Linked DNA regions of Homo sapiens: region 1 is linked to region 2. Evidence: promoter capture Hi-C in 16 types of primary human blood cells and fetal thymus (Javierre and others, 2016). All regions are on one chromosome and are shown on one strand. The core of a region is centred on a gene start or on the middle of the fragment in contact, and the rest is flanking DNA. Distances in the headings are between cores, read along the strand shown.

Region 1 (4,778 bases), core at 1,989-4,488, 260 kb after region 2:
AAAGTGAGGCCATCAGGGTGGGCCCTAATCCAATATGACCGGTGTCCACGTAAAAAGGGAAAACATGGACACAGAGACATGCATGGAGGAAAGACGATATGAAGAGACGTAAGAAGGAGGTGGCCGTCTACAAGTCAAGGAGAGGCCTGGAACAGATCCTTCCTTCACAGTCCTCAAGAAGGAGCCAATACTGTTCATACTTTGATATTTTTACTTCTATCCTCCAGAACTATGAAATAATGAATTTCTGTTGCTTAAGCCCTCAGTTGGTGGCACTTTGTTACAGCAGCCCTGGCAAACTAATACATTCCACCAAAATGGTCAACACCTATTGAGAGAGACAGGCTTATAAACAAATCACTAGAACATCAAACAGATTGAAGAGAGAGCTGTGGTAGTATTTGCCAATTACGAGTGCAAATATTCCCAACATAGTTGATTTCAAGTTACCAATGCTTTCACCGTCTGGTACAAAGTCCTGGAACTATAACAGTCAATTCTTACAAGCAGCTACAAGCGGCTCTAGCACAGGCCAAAAACTCAGGCATCGGCATTTTTTAAAATCCACATGTAATCCCAATGTACAGCTAAGATTAGAACCTCAACTGGAAATTGTAGGGCAGCTTCATGAAAGCAATAAGACTGTTAGTATACAGAATATTTAAAAAGACAGATGTGACAAAAATGCATTGCACAATGTGAGAATAGCTTAAGAATGGTAGAGAAATAAATGCTGAATGAATAACAGGAGGTAATATTTAATGAGCACTATGTTTCATGCACTGTATTAACTCATTTAATGCTTGCTACTCTATAAAACGTTCTATCAACATATACTTGTTTTTGAATGGGGAAACTGAGCCATGGAGAGGTTAAGATTCACAGGTAGTAAGAAAAATAGAGTCCAAACACAGGCTGTCTGGCCCCAGACTGTACCCAGACCATTATTCTGTGCTCTCACTGTATGGGGTTGTGAGCATGGCAATTACTCTGATGTAGCTGGAGCCCAAAGCGAGGGACAAGGGCAAGACTAGAGGAAAGGTATCATGCTCCTGGCCTCAGGTATGTTACCTTACACAAACAATGGGTTTGTAAACCAAACTTCTGTAAAATGGGTCATTTCAATGTTTTTACATAACTTGTTATTTAAATACATCAAATCAAATTAGAATTTGAAAAGGTCTAAAAGTTTGCAAAGTGAAAATCTCTCTGTAAAACAAAATCACCACCACCTTATTTGCCTCACATCTAAATCCTGATTTTTACACATAAGGATGGGCTTACCAGGCAAAAAGCACCATAATCACTCCAGAGAGATCAGCACAGCCTAGCACCTCTGAAAACAAAAGCAGGAAAATCATACAGATACCCTAAGCCACAAAGAGAAATCTGGAAGATGAAGCTTCACTCACTAAGCACCTGGAGGGCAAGCAGCACCAACCAGGAAATGCATTCCACTTTTGAGGTTACAACAAAGAAACCCATAAACACTTCATCTCACCATGAGGACTGGTGGAGGTGAAGACTGAATTCCAGTATTGTTTTCTACACTTAGCCAGTATTTAACTCTGGAATTGTACTTTCAAAAAAGTCATTCTTTGGTGACTGAGCAGGGACGGACAGTAAGGAGGACCTTGTAGGACCTGGGAAGGCCAGGCTGAGCCCATGGGACCCACGCAGGTCACCCTCAGTGACCCACAGTCACGGCGGCGTGGGTAGCACTGATAGACCCAGTGCTGATAGACCCCGGAACAGAAAATCAGGGAGCCCCACTGAGATCAGGACACTTCAGCAGAAGGAGTGTCAAAGGGCAGGACTTCTAAGGAAGATTCTTCCTCCCAGAAGCCCACCATTGTGGCCTGCAGGCCAAATCTCGCAGGACATACTACAGCTGGCTGGGCACCACAGAACACGCCCTATGCAGAAACCACAGACACGTGCTTCCTGGCCCATTATAAAAGATTCCCCTGAGATTATGAACAAAATCAGGCTGCCCACTCTCTGCACTTAGATTTAGTGTTATACTAGTGTTTACGTCCAGTCAACAAACCAATTAAAAAAAAAACTCTTTATATGTTTCTAGAGCACATCAGCACATTGACAAAGGACTACTTTAGTATACAGGATAACAGCAGGAGTGAATAAAAACACATTCCTGAAGTAAAATCTGTGCACTGTTGTTACAGAAGGAAAGATAAAGTATTAGGAAATATGCAAGATGGAAGCTTCTCTCCTTCTTCAAGCAGACTTCAGCATACACAGGACTTCAGAATTAACCTGAGGGAGCCCTTTGCTCTGCAGCCCCAGGAAAATGACAGAGTGTGACAGGAGGCTAAGCTATGTGTCTCTCTGGAGGAATAAGTAGGTGGGAGGGAGGCAGAATCTGACAATCAACCTGCAGGCCAGGCTGCTCCCACTGTTCTCTGGAAGGCAGAAGCAATAGAAATTCTGTATGGGTGGGCAATCTCTTGTCTTAAGCAATTTAATCACCCACAAGTAAACTTTGTGATATCTGGAGGTTGATAGTTAGGAGTTACATAAAAGAATGTAAAGTATACTTACCTATAAGGTAATTCATACATAAATGATACCCTGACTTAGCAACTAGAAATTGCTCACACTTAAAAAGGGCACTAATCACTTTATCAAGTACTTCCTCAACTGCCCAATGTTTCAGTCAGAACCACAATTCAAATGTACATTCCTAAACCTGTCATTTATTATGGACATATTAAATAATAATTGTAATCACCTCAAAGGATTGTTGTGAAGATGACATCAGTTAATTTCAGTAATGGCAGAATGTACCAGGTACATAATAAGAACTTCATTAGCTGTTTTTATTTTTGTTTTGTTGCTGTTGCTTGTCTCGCTCTGTCGCCCAGGGAGGAGTGCAGTGGCATGATCTCGGCTCACTGCCACCTCAGCCACCCGGGTTCAAGTGATTCTCCTGCCTCAGCCTCCCAATTAGCTGGGACTACAGCTGCTTGCCATCATGCGCAGCTAATTTTTGTATGTTTAGTAAAGACAGGGATTTACCATGATGCCCAGGCTGGTCTCAAACTCCTGAGCTCAAGCGATCCACCTTCCTCAGCCTCCCAAAGTACTGGGATTACAGGCGTGAGCCACTGCACCCAGCCAGCTATTTTTTTTTTTAAATAAATTATTTCAACCTTGTTTAAACTTTGCTTTCATTGAGGAATGTATTTTCCCCCAAATCTGTCTAGTTAAGTGTTACCTGTCTTTCTAGGCCCATCTCTTGCATACAGCTGTGCTACTGTCTATAAAACTACATTGCCTTATACAGTAGCTACTAACCACATGCAGTTAATGAGCACTTGAAATGTCATGGCTGGACACAAACTATCTTAAATATGCCATGCGATACCTAGCACTCCTCTGCTCCCAGTGGCTCCCACCAGGTAAGGACTAACCCTGTGGTGTGGTCATGCTCCCATATGGCCATCAGGGAGGCATGCAAGCCCACTCATCATGCATTCTTCTCTAAACTTGCCTTCACATTAAGGTTGGGGACAACCCAGTACACCCACATGGTGTGTTCAGGATTCATGTCCACTCCCATGAGGTGCAGAGCCCAGCTCAGCCAGGCCAAGAAGAGAACTGGACAGAGCTGAAGGTATAAAATAAGGGAGCAGTCACAATGGCACCAAGGGAAAGAATCCTAGGACCTGGTCACGGAGCATTCTGGACTGCAGTGGGGAGCTTCCACAAAAGCCTGGAAAAAACTCAGTATTGTGTATATTAAGTCAATTTATATTAATAAATTTTATATTAATGTATATTGATTATTGATACAAAATCAAGTATCAGAGGGTTTTTGGGTTTTTTTTGTTTCTGTTGTTTTTTCAGAAAGAAGGGTAGAAAAAGAAGGGAGGGAGGAAAAACTGTACAGAAAAACCATACCAGGCCTCCATAGGCTTTTACTGCTTTAGGGATCAAGACTTGGGCCAGAGGTTAAAAAGGATTCACAAAAAAGCTGGCAGGAGGAAGAAATTCCTGGCCTGAAAACAAGAGATAAGAAAATAATCTCAAAGCAAGCAAGCAGGGAAAATAAGAGAAATTAGTAAGAAGTCTCCCTTCAGCAGGGAGGTTCGACAGGAAGAAGTCATTACAAAGACAAATGGACAAGAAGGAGTCCACAAAGGCTGGGAGATAAGCAAGCCCAGAGGAGCTCTGAACTAAGCTGGCCTCAAGTTTTTGACTTCAGGTAGAAAGTGAAAGGAAGCTTTGCTGGAAGGGAAGAGATTAAAAGGGATCTCTCCTTGAACCATGAAAAGGAGAAGAAAAAAATAAAGAGATCCTGAGGACAGACAGTAACTGTATTTGGAGTTCAGTGAAGGGGGATTTTTGTCTTTTACATTGCTGTCAGGTTACACCTTAATGATAGCAGGTGAACTCACCAGTATCAAACAGGGTTAGGGCTCTAGTGGGCTTTGCCACTTACTACCTAAGTGATCCTGTAACTTCAAGAGAGGTTCACAGCATCTCTGCCTCCTTGCAGAAAGAAGAGGATAACTACACTTTCTTCAGAGGGCTGTGCCAGGGTTATTGAAGCCATGAACAATGTGTCTTCAAGAATGATGGGACTCAATCTTTCCCTTCATCTCCTGTCTTTCCTTTTTCTTCCTTTCCATTTACCCCCTACCTTGCAACTCGTACTGTTTCCCTTTGCCTTCACCTGAAATAATAAAGACTACTTTAATATTTAGTGTAGGATTTTTTTAAGATGCTAATAATAAATCATTTAAAAGCACTTT
Region 2 (4,550 bases), core at 461-2,960:
TTGCTAGCACCTCCCACAGCCTCTGTGGTGTGCGGTAGATGCTGTCTGATCTGAACTCACATGGAAAATTCAGCTGCGAATATTTTTACGCAACAGCAAAAACAATCAGCCTTTTTCATATCAAGGTGGGGATTGAGAAGCTAAATGAGAACATTAGGGGCATAAAATTAGTCTGCTTTAACTTTAATAACCAAACGGTGATTGGAAACATACAAACTTTGTGTTTGCAGGAATGAGGGGCTGGGATCACTAAGACTTAAAGGGTTTTTCTCCCCCACCCCGCGACCATGAGCACACAGCAAAACTAATAAAATTATGACCCAGAATTAAAAGGTCGCATTCATTTTCAAAGCATTCATTTAAAAGTACAGAAGCGTTCTTTAAAAATGCCCACATTTTTAAACATAGCAAGAATGTGGCTACCAAATATTAATCCTGAGGAATATGAATACACATTTACCTTCATAATTACACCCAGCAGGTCAAATGTTAGCAAGGCCAACTGACCGAAATCACAAAGACTGATTGAAAATGACCAACAGAAAGTGTCTGTCCGGCTTGGGAGCCCCGCTTGTTCCCAGCCCAACCAGTGGTCAAACATCTGCAGGCAAAGAAATCTACACGCGCCAGCCGGGTATGGCAGAAATCAAACTTTTCCAAATAAGTTAGTTCCGTCTTGCCAATCTACACCCAACAGGTGTCAATACATGTCACCAGACAAAAATCTGGCGAGCCAGGTCTAGAGAAGCAATAGATGGTTGGCAGAGAAGCTGAAACGACTCGACCTCTACCAGGGTAATGAAAGCAAGTCGGGCCACTATTCTGACTGATCACTTGGCAGTGGGGTGGAGGGGTATGGAGATGGGAGAATCCCTGGATGAAGATCGGAAGGAGCGTGGAGATGTCCCGCCACTGGTGACGCGGGGGGATTTCGGAGCATAGTCCCCGCACTCTTTCACGACCCCCGACCCCTGATCCCCGGATTAGGACGGCAAGGGAGTGCGGCGATCAAGGCTGGGAGACCGCGGAGAGAAGGCGCGCGGTACCTGCTTGTCCAGCGCGTCTCGGACGCCTCCCTGCCCGGCGCCGGCCCTGGGTGGCGCGGGCGTTCGTTCGCAGCTGCAGCCCTCCAGGAGGTACATGCCCGCCGGGCGGCAGCTCTGCTCGCCCTCGAAGTAGAAGAGCACATTCTGGTAGAGGGCGAACCACTTCTCGTGCCAGCGGCTCGCCTCGGCCGTCTTCTTACTCAGGAAGCCGCGCTTGGTGCCCTCCTTGCGCGCCAGAAAGGCCAGGTACAGGGCGTGCCCCTCGTTGTAGCGCACGCTCTTCTGCATGGTGCGGGTGCGGAGGGCTCACGGGTGGCCGCCGGTCTCACCCCTGCCTCGCGGCCATGGCCCAGCTGGCTCCCTCGAGGGCGCGACCGCTCAGGTCCCGGCCGGCGAAGGGCGCCCCCTTTCCCCACGCCGCGCGCAGGGCACCCCGCCCGCTTTCGGGAGGCCGCGGCGCGCGGTGGCAGGGGCGCGGGCTGGGGCCGAGGCACGCTCTCCGCCCTAACCACCACCCTCCCGGCCGAGCCCCCGGAGCCCCCCAAGCCCCCAACGCCCGCGTGGAGCGCGGCCCCGCGAGGGCGCCCGAGCCGGCCGCCGCTTCGCCCAAAGTTGCGGGAGCCGAGCCCCCGCGGCGGGCTGGGGCGGCAGCCGGGGAAGGACTGTCCTCGGGCAACGCGCTCCGGGAGACAGAAGGTAAAACGTCACGTGGGAGCTCAGCTGTAATCGGCTTGGAGACCGATTTAAAGGGCAAAGTCGGCGCGGCGCCGGCGGTGGCGCAGCCCGCTTGCCCCGGCTCGCGTCCCTCCCTCGCCCGCCCCGGCCCGGGCCGCTGCCTCTGCTCGGGCGCCCGCCGGGATGGGGCGGATCAGGGAGGTGGAGGCGCCCGGCCGCACCACACACCCGCTCACACGCGCTCGCACACTCGCGCACAACGCGCGCACACACACACGCACACCCACACACACGCAGACCAGTACATTCACCCAGATCCACAATGCACACACTCAGACGCACAAAAATACACTCACAAATGCACACAAACACAATGCGCGCACATATGCACAAAAACACACGCGCACACACTCATGACACACAAATACACATTCTCACAACGCTCACACTCAACACACAGTCACAACGCACAAATGCATATAGACAAATACACCCACAATGTGCGTTCCCGCGCACAAAAATAAAACCCACATTCAGATACACACTTAAGGAGCTACACACATGCACGCAGTGATATGCTCACTTACACACACATTCACACACAACCCACACATTCACTCAAACCCACATTCAAACATACATTCATACACACATTACACTCATACAGTCACACAAACAGCACACATATACTCACACGTTCACAATCATACAGACTCATAAGCAGATAATCAAACACACACACAGATGAACACACATGTACATTCACAAATTCATCCAAAAATACACACAAAGCACTCACACACGTATTCGCACGAATCCACACACTTTCACAAACCCACTCACACATACACACACACTCACATGCCACATCCATAAGTACGTTCCCATGGCAGTAGGTAGAGTCACAGAGTGGCTTTGCATAGCCCGCATCCTTGGCTTTTCTGCTTGTACCTGCATTGTAGTATTTAAAACTGCCGGTAAAGGTTAAGGAGAGTGGCCCAAGTGTTCCCGGAAAGGCATCAGATGCCGAAGTTCTTTCGGAATGCCTGTTATTTCACAGTGGTAAGATGCTAAATTTTAAGTGCCGAGTTTTCAACCTGGAAAAAAATACCCAAATAAGGGACACTTTGCTGCCCAGGGCAGAATCCAACCCCAAAGGCCAGCTGTCACAGGCTCATCGTTTGTAGGACTGGATTCATTTGATTAACAAATCTGACAGGTACAACCAGAAAACCAAGAGCCACCCCCCCGCCCCAACCCCATGCTGTAAAAATGTAAGTGGAAAAGAAATAATGTAGCCAGCAGCTGTGAGAGAAAGCCAGTGAAACCCCCGGGGAGGGCCTATATTTGATTCTGCTATACACATTTTTTATTTTCCCCAGTCATTTATCACTAAAACGGAGTGCCATCATAAAATGTTTATTGTTAAAAGTAAATAATAATGCTTTTCTGGGTGATGAGTCTACGACAATACACCTGTCTTGTACTGCCAGTTGTGTGTTCATGAATTGGTAGCCCCAGGGGTTCTGCCTGTTTCATAAGTGCTGTTTCTGCAGAATATTTTAACTCTGCCTCACTGAGCAGCTGAGTGGGGTTTTTTTTTCCTTTTACCTTTTTAAAAAATTTTCACTTTTAACAAGTATATAGTAGGGAAATTGCCATTTTGAAATTACAGCGTGAGAACAGTGGTCATTTCTCTTTACGTTTTTAAAAATATCTAAAGGACAGTGCTGTGCTAAATTGGGTTTAACCCAGCTGGAAGTTTGCATTGTTCTTCAGAGAAGACACAAGTACAGAGACAGTAAGTAAATGCAGGCAACATTTTGGAGCCAGATTCTAGATGCAGAGGAGCTGGTGATTGCCTCAGGAGGCCTTTTATTTCTTTCTCTGTGGTCCAATCCCAGCTGTGAGAACCGTAAGTGAGTAGACACCTGTGTGGTTGATAAGCTCCATTTTTTTAGTAGAAACCAGTAAGAGTGTGAAATCAGCACAAAAACTATTTTGCCATGAGTAGTCAAACCTTCTAACGCACTTGAGTTTTTTCAGATGTGAAAGATTCTCTTCTTCAATAAGCAATGTCTCAGTTACCATCTCTGTCTCCTTAAATGTGCTTTTCATTTGAACCACATGAAATATTCACAACCTCTTGTCTGACATCACTTCCTACCACGGAAGGTTATGTGGCCCTTATATGCCACCCCATCTGCTCTGCCCCTGGACAATGAGAGAAAGGAGTGCTTGTTTCCTGCAAAATTTGGCTGGTGATTACCGTGGGTTTTGATTATGGAAATTCACTGCAAGAACCATTTATTGATCACTAGTTTATGTCCTCAACACTATATTTAGGTGATGTAGAGCATATAGAGAAAAAGCATTGCCTGTGTTCCTGGTGTGCTCAGTGTAAGAGGAAGAGAATTTCTTTCTTTCTTCTTTTCTTTCCCTTCCTCCCTCCCTCTCTCTCTCTCTCTCTCTCTCTCTCTCTCTCTCTGTCTCTTTCTCTCTCTCTTTCTTTCTTTTTTTCTTTAGAGAGAGGTTCTTCCTCTGTTGCCCAGGCTGAAGTCATAGCTCACTGCAGCCTCAAACTCCTGGGCTCCAGCAATCCTCCTGCCTCAGCCTCCAGCGTAGCTAAGACTATGGGTGTGCACTACCACACCTGGTTAGGTTTTGTTTACTTTTTGTAGAGACAGAGGTCTCACCATGTTACCCAGGCTGGTCTCAAACTCCTGGTCTCAAGTAACCCTCCTGCCTTGGCCTCCCAAAGTCCTGGGATTGTAAGTACGACACCACCCAGCCAGGAAGAAGATTAATGTTTAGGTGCTTCTTCTCACC

The links. The method cuts DNA at HindIII sites, captures the fragments that hold promoters and counts their contacts. A CHiCAGO score of 5 or more calls a contact.
Region 1: a contact is called between a fragment that was not itself captured here and the fragment with the promoter of RASGRF2 in region 2, in 1 of 17 cell types (endothelial precursors). The highest score is 5.9, in endothelial precursors.

The regions. Positions count from the first base shown.
Region 1 is chr5:80,701,092-80,705,869 of GRCh38, reverse strand. The region is part of intron 8 of MSH3 (mutS homolog 3); the gene reads right to left. Among named protein-coding and RNA genes, the nearest start is that of DHFR, 48 kb to the right of the region's middle. The HindIII fragment of the contact is 2,021 bases long and covers 2,228-4,248 here.
Region 2 is chr5:80,957,523-80,962,072 of GRCh38, reverse strand. It overlaps RASGRF2 (Ras protein specific guanine nucleotide releasing factor 2), which reads right to left and starts at 1,710. Exons shown (of 27, transcript NM_006909.3): 1 at 1,047-1,710. The coding sequence starts at 1,334. It overlaps RASGRF2-AS1 (RASGRF2 antisense RNA 1), which reads left to right and starts at 1,166. Exons shown (of 4, transcript NR_105015.1): 1 at 1,166-1,292. RefSeq lists an enhancer at 886-1,607. The HindIII fragment of the contact is 16,452 bases long and covers 1-4,550 here.